Regions from separate parts of the Homo sapiens genome. Here region 2 is linked to region 1. The links are contacts of gene promoters, found by promoter capture Hi-C in blood cells and fetal thymus (Javierre and others, 2016). All regions are on one chromosome and are shown on one strand. The core of a region is centred on a gene start or on the middle of the fragment in contact, and the rest is flanking DNA. Distances in the headings are between cores, read along the strand shown.

Region 1 (6,218 bases), core at 2,143-4,642:
ATTACCTCCAAAGGCTCCATTTCCAAATACCATTACATTGAGGGTTAGGGCTTCAACATATGAATTTGGGGGGGGGGACAAAATTCAGTCCATAGTACATGCACGATCTCATTTGATCTTCCAGAACCCCATGACATAGTTTCCATTTGAAGATGAAGAAAAGGAAGCTTAGAAAGGTGAAGCTGCCAATGGCCACTCTGCTAGGTAGAAATGGAACTGGGAAGTTTTCAAGTCTAAGGAATTAACTAAGCAATATTTGCCTTAAAAACAAGTCTTGCTGACTCCTGAGGCCTGACATTATCCAGTTTGGTTTTGAGCCATTTGGTCTAAAGGTAAATATGAAAATATGTGAGGCAAGAATATAAAGAGAAACTCCAATGAAGAGGAGGCTATGGAGGGATGGGCACTTAGCAGGGTGCAAGTGAGTACCTGGACACAGAGGGAGAGGATCCTGGAAAAGTGGCTTATCTCCAGGAAGAAATTGGGGGAGGAGTTTTACAGGAAACTGGATCTTGGAAGGTTGGCAGGGCGGAGGTGGAGGGTTGGAATTACGATGTCAACTCTCATCAGGAAAATGTTTGACTCATGTTCGCTCACCCCTTTGGCCTTCTTCCTAGGTCCCACACCCTTTTGCTGGCTCTGACAGGTTTTTCAGAACAGGAAAAAGAAGAAAACACACACACACACACACACACACACAGACACACACACACAGAAAGGAAAAAAGAAAAAGAAAAGGCAATTCCCTGCCTCTACCGTATACCCAGGCCGTGGGAGTTACAAAGATCTCTCTGTTGAATAGATCTTAGAATAAGAACATTTCTCCCACATCCAGCCAGTGTGAAGATAAGAGTGAGGTTCTCACAGTCCTCTGAAGCCTAATTAAGTCACAGTGTTCTGGAAAGAGCACTAGTAACACTGTATCTCAATTCAGATAACATTTATTAAGCTCCTTTTCTGAAGCAGGAACTGTGGAAGGTGCTGGAGTTCTAAGGAGCTCTGTGTGGCTTCCTCCGTCTTTGGGAAGTTGTCAGCTATGTGATGATTTAGATACTTTGGGGCACTAGCCCCTTATCTTGGCCACTGTTTCTACATAAGGGTGAATTCTCAGCCACAGCCAGGTGTGGGCTGTGCCAGGACATACTGACCTTATTTCCTCTTATTCTCTTTCTTATCTTCCCATTTGCAGCTGTTCCTTTAACTGAGTGCAGCCACTAGTCTCCTGGTTCCTGCCAAGGAGGAAATTCAGAGGCTGAGGAGGGAGGATCGCTTGAGCTGAGGAGTTCAAGGCTGCAGTGAGCTATGATGGTGCCACTGCACACCAGCCTAGGTGAGAGAGTGAGACTCTGTCTTAAAAAAAAAAAAAAAAAAGACATTCAGGAAAGCTTGGACCACCAGTATACTCAATTAGACCATTAAATCTTAAATCGTCACATGGCCTTGAGAAAGCCACATAGCATCTCTGAAATATAGCATATCATAGCATCTCTGAAACATAGCATATCTGAAAATAAATACACCCTCTTTGCTTACCTCACAGGTTCTTGGGGGAATATTAAATGATATATTATGTACGTGCTTTATAAGCAGTAAAATATTACATAATGCTGTGGTAACCCTCACAGGGTTGATAAGCTAGGGAGCCTTAAGCATCACCTATTACCCCGTATTTATTGTGTACTGGGCCTTCTTCTAGGCACTTCACCGATCTTAAGCCCTTGAATCTGCTGAGCATCCCAATGGGGCAGGTACTGAACAGGGAAGTTAAGTGGCTTGTCTAGGGTCACACAGTAAGTGGCAGAGCTGACATTCAAGGCCAGGTAGTCAGGTTCCAGAACACACATTGTTAAACACCAGACCAAGCTGCCTCCTGTGTGCCCCACTGACACTTCCTGTGTCCTCCTCCATGAGCCCCTGGCAGAGATGACAATTGCTTGCCTTAACAATAGATAAGCTACCAGAAGTCAGGGCCTGTGCCTCATTCACACACGTCCACAGTGCCTGCCACATAGCTAGAGTTCAGTAGATATTTGTTGAATGAACAAATACCCTCCAGGGAGGGATACAATAAGTCTGATACAACTACTGTATTTTTCCTTCATTTTTTCTTGGCTAACCACACTCATTTCCTTCAGTTGTTTCCAAAAGGAGGTTGGCATCTCTCACTGTCCTCATTGACCTCCTTTGCACTTTCTCCACGTCAACAGTGACCCATCTAAAGCCGACTACTGTGACATGAACACTGCACTTGAAGAGCCTGACCAGCGCTGGGCTCAGTAGAACTATCCTTTCTTCTCCCATGGTGTATCCTCACTGTCCAGGACTCTCTTCTCAGAAGCCCACTCCTTCCCCTGTGCTGTTTATATGCTTAATGAAACCAAGTACCCAAAGTGACCGTTCAACTGTTACTAGGCAGCTAAGTAGACTCCATTAAACCTTTTCCTTCCTTCCTCCCCTTCTTTCTTTCTCTCCCATTCTTCTTTCATTCTTCTCGTCCTTCCTTCTATCCTTTCTTCCTTCCTGCCTCCTTTTCTTCCTCTCCTCTGCCCTTTCTTTCAGGTCTTTTTTGTGGTAGGAACTGGTAAGAAAAGGAAAGGAATTCCCTAAGATTTTAAGGAAACAACAACAAAAACCAGGTTATGTTTGGTGAGAGAGTTGGGGCAAGAAACTGCATCTTCTAATATGGAATCCAGGTAATTTATCAGTTTTTTTTCATAGCATGACTACGGTGAGATTTCTTGTAAGAAAAAAAAAAAAATACCAGCATCGCTGGCCTCATATATTGGATTATACTTAAGGGGATCAAGGGATAAGATGTTTGAATTTGGAGATGTCTTGAAAAATCCTGTGGTGAGCACAAATGTTTGCAGTGTCTCTGCTGGACTCCTCAAATTGGGAAAAAAGAGACTCTGGTTCTCATCATAGACTCAAAACCTGAGGAAAAGCGAGATGCGATTATTAGATAAACTGGCAATGACACGCACAAAAATGTGTCTATTCCAGCCAGGGCTTTTCTTTTCAGTTGTTTGTTTTGGTTAGAGATGACTTTGGGGAACTGCATGTCCCACTGGACATTCCAAGCTGCGTTGTCGGAGTCGCGGGTCGCGGCCTCCAGTCAGCGGAGCCGCCGCCCCCAGGGTCCGCCACCCAGAAGTCGGCGGAGGGGGGCCCGCCGGCGGGAGCGCGCGCCCCGGTCGCCGTCTGCGGGTAGAAGCAGAGGAAAGACGGTGGCCTGGGAGCGCGCGAGGCCGCACGTGCGCGCGCCCGCCCGCCCGCCAGCCAGTCCGCTCGCCCACGCGCCCACGCACGCGCCCGCCCGCCCGTTGGCCCGGGAAGTCTCGCGATGCCGTAGCCGGCTGCTCCCGCTGCGGGTGGCTCGGGCTGTTGCTGTGGTTTCCTGAGTTGCTGCTGCTGCGGCGGCGGCAGCGGCGTCTGTGCTTGTGGAGGTGTCGGCCTCTGGGCGGATGTTGACATTGTGTTGTTGTTATTGCTGATGGTAATGGCGGCGGCGGTGGCGGCGACGGTCCAGACCCCATCCCCTCTGTAGCCGGAGCCGAGACAGCCGACAGCGAACTCCGCGGCCTCGGAGCCGGCGGCAGCGGCGACTCCCCTCAGCCTCCGCCGCCTCGCCCGCCGGTACCCCGGCGCCAACCCCGGGAGTCAGGCCCTTTGGGCAGGGGAGCTCGGAGGCTCAGGATGGCGGATTTCGACGAAATCTATGAGGAAGAGGAGGACGAGGAGCGGGCCCTGGAGGAGCAGCTGCTCAAGTACTCGCCGGACCCGGTGGTCGTCCGCGGCTCCGGTCACGTCACCGTGTAAGGCCCGGAGGAGGGCGAGGGCGGGAGGTGCGGGCTGGGGTGGGCCCCGTTACTCCACGGGAGCCCCGTTTCCCCTGTGTCCGTCTGGTGTCGGGGGCCTTCCGAAAGAGTAGGCAACCAGGAAGTGAGAACTTGGCTTATTTTCATTTGTTTGGGTCTCCGAAGTGGGGACGGACGCTGTCCTTCCTCCTCCACACACCCCTTTAGCAGGCCCTACAGGCCCGGGCGATGTGACGATCCCAGTAGGCACGGGTTTTCATTAGGGTCTGCCCTGCGGGCCACCCTTCCTCTTCAGGGTGGAAGTACGTGTATTGACAGGGAGCCTCCTTGTTTTCTCGCCCAGTTACCCTGTGGTTGTCTGTGCCTTTGCACCCAGTGACATGGCTCAGAGGCCAGATCTGGGCCGTGTGAGACCCCAGTGACAATTGGCAGCGAAGCTCCGTTTCGTGTCTATTTCACACATACCCACAGGTCTCCCAGTTTTTCCACTAATTTCCGCAGAACTAATGCAAGTTCTTGTAATTGTACGTGATAAAAATATATAGTTGAACACAAATTTAAGATATACAGAAAGAAATATGTTTACAACAACAACAACAACAACTACGTGAGGGACATACACTCTGCTCAGGTTACTGAGGGAAAATTGTAGTCCTGAAGCTCCTCCTTGGGGCACGAACTTGGGGCTTGTTAATTTGGAAAGTCCCACTAGTAACATTAAAAGTCTGATATTAATAAGGAATGAAAGCTTTCGGAAAGACCATGACAAAGGAATGTGAAGCCTTGAACCAAATAATGAGCTGTCCGGAAGCAGGAAGTTTTGTAATGTTTCACTATGAAGTCCACAGTTTTGTACCACTTGATGTATTACATTGATACTCTCTCATTTTAGATCTCTTGTTCAAATAATAGATCAGACTTCCATACTTGTCAGGTATCTCTGTACTTCTTCACCTTTTCAGTGAAACAAAAGAGCCAGCAAGTCTGAGAATGTCTGGAATAGTCTTCATTATATTTTGGTGAAGAGTGAGTGGGATGTGCTGTGAATAACTTAGGGAAACAGTAAGACTTCTCATATAAGTTTGTCAGCAAAATAATTGCATTTCTCGTATGACCAGCCATATTGTTGTTTGAGTATGCTTATGTAATGCTTTAATTTCTTTAGTACCTGTTAGTTTATGTTCAGGTGACTTAACAGGGTAAAAACACTGCATAATTGCCATCACAGCACCATGACAAGACAGTGGAATTTAATTCACCACAATAATACTTTCTAAGTGTTGTCACCAGCTTAAGAAGTATAACCAAATATCATGGATATTAAACTTTTAACATATATCACAGAATTCATAACCTGCCATTTGATTTTATTTTGACTTTTAGGACCTTTTTGCACTGTTTTAAGCCTAAGGAGTATGTGGATGCTTAAAGAAGTGATTTCCAAACTTTGTCATGCCATCTATCCCTCCTTCTACATTCCTCATGTCAAAGAAAAGCTAGAGAATTTTGTCATTTAAAAAGGCGACGCTGTAGTTGTAATGTTTCCTCTGTTAAGGAGAAGAAAAGCTAAGCACTTTGTTGGGCAAGTGGAAAATGCAATAGTGGGCAAAGTGCTCAGAACCTAGGTAATCAGTAAACTTGATTGTAGTTGGCTACGTGGAGAGGTTAATAGGGTAGAAAATAATTATTAGTGGTTTTCAAACTTAGCTGTCCATTAGAATCCTGGGTGTCTTTAAAAAAAGACCATTGTCTTTGCTCCACCCCAGGCCAGTTGAAGGCCAAATACTAAGTGAGGGTCCTAGGAGTGGACAGTTAAAATAATAAATAAATAAATAAATAAATAAATAAAATCTCACAGGTGATTCTAATGTGTAGCCAAGATTGAAAACTATTCCAGGTTATAGGGAGGGACTATCTATCATCAATAAACAGTATGCCTTTCTACATTGTGAGTTAAATCTCTGATTTTCCTCAGCAACTTCCTTCTTCTCCCATTTATCTTGGTTCTAGGCTCTGGGTTAAAATCTATCTCAGCTACTTCCTGGATAAATTGTTTATTCATGACCTTTAGTTGAGATGGGGATAGTTATAGTCGATACCTTTTAAGATTATTAAGGATTAAATGAGATAGTACATGAAAAGAATTTATTGCACTGTGTGGTACTATGTTCAATAGATACTAGTTTTTATTATTCTCCTCCTCAGATATAGTTTTCCACTTTGAGAAACAGGTGTAAAACAAAGTACTAAAAAATTAGAACTGCCATTATCAAACATAACAATGATTCACCTTAGTCTTATTTTTCCATTTCTAAGCAATGTGTATGTGCTTAAATTACTGTGTTTGAAGTATTTTGATGACAATAAGGATCTTTCTGCATTGAAAACTTAACCTGTTTT
Region 2 (6,218 bases), core at 975-3,474, 2.3 Mb before region 1:
CAACACTGAAGAATTATAACTAAGCTTGCATTTTGAAAAAGAGACTGGTACTTAGAGGAGATCTTTCCAGAAAAGTAAATTTATTGTTTTTTTATTTTTAAATGATTGCCAACCAAAGATATAACCAAGAAACTCTGTTTTTGGGGCAAGAATTGGTGTTATATCTTCAGCAAGATGCAGCCCATGCTTCATTGTTTATTTATTATTTATAAAATATTGTTTTACTAAAGGGGAAGAACATTATAAAAATATATTCAATTTAGCCTGTTTTTGCCCATTTTCTATATGAGCCAGTTTGTATTGGGGTAACTTAAATGCATTCCCTGCTTTCACCCCCCCCAACTGTGTGTGTGTGTGTGTGTGTGTGTGTGAGAAGTGTCAAGAACTTGAGGTATATGGGGGACTTTCTAGAGACTCAAAGGGTTTTTTTTTTTTTGAGCCAGAGTCTCACTCTGTTACCCAGGCTGAAGTGCAATGGGCAGTGGTGCGATCTCAGCTCACTGCAACCTCCGCCTCCCAGGTTCAAGCGGTTCTTGTGCCTCAGCTGCCCAAGTAGCTGGAATTACAGGTGCATGCCACCACACCCGGCTAATTTTTGTATATATATTTTTAAGTAGAGACAAGGTTTCACCATGTTGGCCAGGCTGGTCTTGAACTTCTGACCTCAAGTGTTCTGCCTGCCCCGACCTCCCAAAGTGCTGGGATTACAGGCATGAGCCACCACACCTGGTCTGGTTAATAAATATTTTTAAAATAATTACTTATTAGTGTGTAGCCGAAATTTCCTCTACTCCTCAAATTGGTTATTGCATTGTTCATAAGTAAGCAAAACTGAAATGGGGATGTGATGTTTATTTTTCTTAGCAATCTTAGTGAAAATTTTATAAAAGGTAGCTGAGTATCAGTATTAATTGTCAATGTCAAGGTATTCTTTATGACCAGTAGGAGTTGGACATAGCAAAACCCAAAAAGGAGTTGGGCGCAGCAAAACCTTGCTTCCTATCCCATGATTTTGATGATGGTGTAAGTGTTCTTCCTTCATTTAACACAGGAACGATCAGTAAGTATTTTTAAGCATCTACTGTATGTATGCCCAGCATCCACTAAAGCAGTAGTTCTCAACTGGGGACAATTGGCAATGTCTAGACATATTTTTTATTGTAATGATGGAAGTGGGGTGCTACTGGCATCTGGTGGGTAGAGGCCAGCGATACTGCTAAAAATCCTACAGTGTATAAGACAGCACTCCACTAAGAATTTTCTGGTCCAAAATATCAGTAGTGTTGAAGTTGAGAAACCTTGCACTACGGACAGGATGATTGGGAGGGCATTAGCATATAAGCCTTCCAGCTTTTTATAATGTAGTTGGAGAGAAAAGTTAATACTTCTGAACCTATAACATCTACATAGTGTGATAATTGTCCTAAGTGAAGTAAACATAACCTAGTAGATATAGTAGAATTTTAATGGGGAGGGATGGTTTTGAGCTAGATCTGAAGCGTATGTAGTTCTTTAATTTTTCAAATATTACAGGCCACACCACATCCCCTACCCAATACATACACACATTAAACACACAAAGAAAACACTGTAGGCTTCTGGGTTGTGACCTTTTTCTCATTATTTATGTTGATTTATTTAATGTGAAAACTTAGGTTATATTTCATTAAGCTGTTGTTGTCAACCTAAAAAGATATATTCAAAGAAACCTTACTTTCAACATGTACAAATTCAGTTTAGCATCTCTTCATCCAAACTCACTTCTGGATTAATTCTTCTCCATCCACCAAATCACCTGGGCCAGAAACCCAACAATTTTCTTAGACTCACTCTATATCCAGAAAGTCACCATGTCTTATTTATTCTTTGCTCATAGACCCTTTCTAACCACTCCTCTTGTAACAGAATAGTAGTTCAGGACCATATAGTATATCCGAATTACTGCAAAAGACTCATTAAATGGTTCTCACTTAGCAGAATCTCATTTATTATTCTGTCCTTGATAGAGTCTAATCTATGCTATTGCCACCTTCAATTGGATCCTGTCACTTACAGGTTAAGATCTAAACTCCTTAGTGCTGAGTGTACACGGTTATTAAGGATTTGCATCTCATCTCCTATCAACAACGCACCTCACCTTTTCCCTCTCCCCCACCCCGTTCTTTACCTTAATTGGAAGGCTTAATGTTCACATACCAGCTTTCCCAGGTCAGATCCTCAATGTTGGCTGTTTGCCTGAAGTGCCCATTTTTATTATTTGGAGAATAGCTACTTATAACAAATATTACCCATGAAGCAATCTCTGACCTTCTAGGCAGAGTTCGGCATTCTCTGTTCCCATTAACATTTCAAGCCTGCTTTATTATCATACGCATTGCATTATAATTGCTTGTATATGTCTGGTGTTTTTGAAAATAAGTTAGTAAGGACAGCACTTTGCTCTTGGAGATTTATTTATCTTTTTACCCCCGGGTATACAGCAAGTACTTCCCCCCACTCCCCAAAAACGTCATGTTGAATGAGTAAATGAATACAGTTGGCCCTCTGTATCCAGAGGTTTCCTATCCGAGGATTCATCCAACTGCAGACTGAAAATATTTGGGGCCCACGCCTATAATCCCAGCACTTTAGGAGACTGAGGCAGGAGATCATTTGAGGCCAGGAGTTTGAGACCAGATTGGGTAACATAGTGAGACATCGTCTCTGCTAAAAATAAAAAGCTAGCTGGGTGTTTTGGTGCACACCTGTAGTTCCAGCTACTCAAGAGGCTGAGGTGGGAAGATCGCTTGAGCCCAGCTGTTCGAGGTTGCAGTCAGTTAAGATTACACTGCTGTGGTCAGGCGTGGTGGCTCATGCCTGTAATCCCAGCACTTTGGGAGGCTGAAGCTGGCGGATCATGAGGTCAAGAGATCAAGACCATCCTGGCTAACACGGTGAAACCCCGTCTCTGCTAAAAAAAATACAAAAACATTAGCCGGGCGTGGTGGCAGGTGCCTGTAGTCCCAGCTACTCGGGAGGCTGAGGCAGGAGAATGGTGTGAACCTGGGAGGCGGAATTTGCAGTGAGCTGAGATTGCGCCACTGCACTCCAGCCTGGATGACAGAGTGAGACTCCGTCTCAAAAAAAAAAAATAAATAAAAAAATAAAGATTATACCACTGCACTCCAGCCTGGGCAACAGAGTGAGACCCTGTCTCAAGAAAAAAAAAAAGAAAATATTCAGAAAAAAAAAAAAACCCAGTGCAACAGTAAAAACTAATACAGATTTAAAAATATAGCAACTATTTACATAGCATTAATTAGCATAGTTTTGTATTAGTTATAAGTAATCTAGAGATCATTTAAAGTATATGGGAGGATGTGCATGGTTTATATGCAAATACAGCACCATTTTATATAAGGGACTTGAGCATCTTCAGATTTTGGTATCTGAGATGATCCTAGAACCAATTCCCCCAAGGATACTGAGGGATGACTGTATTTCATATTACTTCTATATAAAGAAGAATATCTTTTAACATACTAATACTGTAAACTTTGTCCCCCATTTCACACAGAAATTTAAATCTTTTCATGAAACATTATTGAACTATGATACATTTACAGTGGAACATAATGACCTAGTGCTCTTCAGACTTCACTGGAAAAATACTGAGGTGAACTTGATGCTAAATGATGGAAAAGAGAAATATGAAAAAGAAAAAATAAAAAGCATAAGTTCTGAGCATGTCAATGAAGAAAAAGCAGAAGAACACATGGATCTGAGGCTAAAGCATTGCTTAGCCTATGTTCTACATACATCAGGGACTACAGGGATACCGAAGATTGTCAGAGTGCCTCATAAGTGTATAGTACCAAATATCCAGCATTTTCGGTAAGTTCTAGTCTTTGACTCTTTCTCAGAATCTATATTTTAGGCCAGGTGTGGTGGCTTATGCCTGTAATCCCAGCACTTTGGGAGGCTGAGGCGGGTGGATCACTTGAGGTCAGGAGTTCAAGATCAGCCTGGCCAACATGGTGAAAGCTGTCTCTACTGAAAAAATACAAAAATCAGCCAGGCGTGTTGGTGGGTGCCTGTAATACCAGGTACTGGAGAGGCTGAGGCAGGAGAATTGCTTGAACCCAGGAGGTGGAGGTTGCAGTGAGCTGAGACTATGCCACTGCACTCCAGCCTGAGTGACAGAGTGAGACTGTCTCAAAAACAAAACAAAACAAAAAACCTTGTATTTTAAAGGGAAAAAAATAATTTTAAAACGTTTGGTTTTATAACTCTTGTTCCTAAATTAATAGTCCTAAGAAGTAAATTGAGTCTTTTTTGTTTCAGCTGTATCTGAACTTTAGTTCTCTGCAGACTAGGCCCTTCACCTGTTTCATCCAAGCCTAGGGCCAGACACGGAACAAACAAATGATATGATTAGAAGCTTTGCATCTTAATTATTAATAAAAAGGGAGAAAGGATTTTCCTAGCAGAGGTACTAGCAGAGTTATATGAGAATGAAGGAGTTTGTCCTACTAGAATGTCAGAGCAGGGCTGAGGAAACAGTGAAAGATCAGGAGCCTGGTATGCCCTGTTGAAGGCTGAACTTAATCCAGTAGATGATGGGGAACCATTAAAAGATTCTCATTTTGTTAAGTTCACTCTTGTAGTAGTATTGTGGAGTTTGACTTGCTGATGTGGTCAAGAGATTAGAAATCTCCAAAGTTGACATTCTTAATTTGCCAAGAAAGAGAGGAAGAAGTGAACCTTAGGGGTGTAGTCCTAGAAAATCAAAGGAGGAAACAGAAATAGAAACCTCATGAAACATGTACGTAATTTTATGTCATTTTAAGTTTTATGTAATTTTAAATGCTTAAGTAATATTCAAAAGTAAAATGGAATGAATGAAAAGGGAAGAAAAAAGAATCAAGTGAAGTTAATTTTATTTTATTTTATTTATTTATTTTTTTTTTTTTTTGAGACGGAGTCTCGCTCTGTCGCCCAGGCTGGAGTGCAGTGGCGGGATCTCGGCTCACTGCAAGCTCCGCCTCCCGGGTTCACGCCATTCTCCTGCCTCAGCCTCCCAAGTAGCTGGGACTACAGGCGCCCGCCACTACGCCCGGCTAATTTTTTGTATTTTTAGTAGAGACGGGGTTTCACTGTTTTAGCCGGGATGGTCTCGATCTCCTGACCTCGTGATCCGCCCGCCTCGGCCTCCCAAAGTGCTGGGATTACAGGCGTGAGCCACCGTGCCCGGCAAAGTTAATTTTAACAATATATTTTATTTAATTTAGTATACTCCAAAACATTACTTCAATATGTAATCAATATAAAAATTACTAGTAAGATATTTTGCATTTTTTATGCTAATCATCTTCAAAATCTGGCATATATTTTATACTTACACATCTCAACGTGGACTAGCCATATTCTTAGTGCTCAGTGGACCTATGGTATTGGATGGCACATGCAGGCCTGGAAAGAAGAAATGGTTAAATGCTGGTAGAGAAAGATGTCTGTTGTAATCGACAATATAGTCTTTAGTGACTTCTTAATCCCCAAGATTGGAGATAGATTACATTAGGCTGGAGATAAGAGAATAGGAGATAACGAAATAGAGGTAACAAAAGTCAAATGTTATTTTCTAGAAACTGGTTTTAATGGAAAAGAAGGAATTCTGGGATGGACACAGGTGTTTTGTCTTTAAGATGGGAGAGGTTGGCTGGGTGCAGTGGCTCATGCCTGTAATCCCACACTTTAGGAGGCTAAGGCAGGAGGATCGCTTGAGCCCAGGAGTTCAAAACCAGCCTGGGTAACATAGTGGGACTCTGTCTTTAAGAAACATTAAAAATAATTAGCTGGGCCTGGTGGTCTGTGCCTATAATCCTAGCAACTCGGGAGGTTGAAGCGGAAGGATTGATTTAGCCCAGGAGGTCAAGGCTGCAGTGATCCGTTATTGCACCACTGCATTCCAGCCTGGGTGACAGAGCGAGACTCAATCTTAAAAAAAAAAAAAAAAAAAAAAGATGAGCGGTTTAGAGGCTGAGGGTGGGGAATTGGTAGAAGGGGTTGGTTTAAATAATGAATTAGTAGTAGGAGTATTAACAAAGGAGTAAGATACATTTAGATGGGAGGAAGATACATTTAGATGGGAGGGAATGGCATTATTTAAAATACTGAGTGGAATACCTCTTTTTTTGATAGCCTCAAAAAGATTAGGATAGTAAAGTAAATACATTTCT

What was found. Contacts are between HindIII fragments. The CHiCAGO score rates a contact against its expected background, and 5 or more counts as called.
Region 2: a contact is called between a fragment that was not itself captured here and the fragment with the promoter of CHIC2 in region 1, in 1 of 17 cell types (naive CD8 T cells). The highest score is 6.3, in naive CD8 T cells.

What each region holds. Positions count from the first base shown.
Region 1 is chr4:54,061,779-54,067,996 of GRCh38, reverse strand. It overlaps CHIC2 (cysteine rich hydrophobic domain 2), which reads left to right and starts at 3,392. Exons shown (of 6, transcript NM_012110.4): 1 at 3,392-3,815. The coding sequence starts at 3,697. RefSeq lists enhancers at 288-1,487, 3,484-3,984 and silencers at 3,085-3,324, 3,555-3,684. The HindIII fragment of the contact is 3,181 bases long and covers 1,388-4,568 here.
Region 2 is chr4:56,375,803-56,382,020 of GRCh38, reverse strand. It overlaps AASDH (aminoadipate-semialdehyde dehydrogenase), which reads left to right. Exons shown (of 15, transcript NM_181806.4): 4 at 3,557-3,873. Among named protein-coding and RNA genes, the nearest start is that of AASDH, 8.6 kb to the left of the region's middle. The HindIII fragment of the contact is 4,396 bases long and covers 27-4,422 here.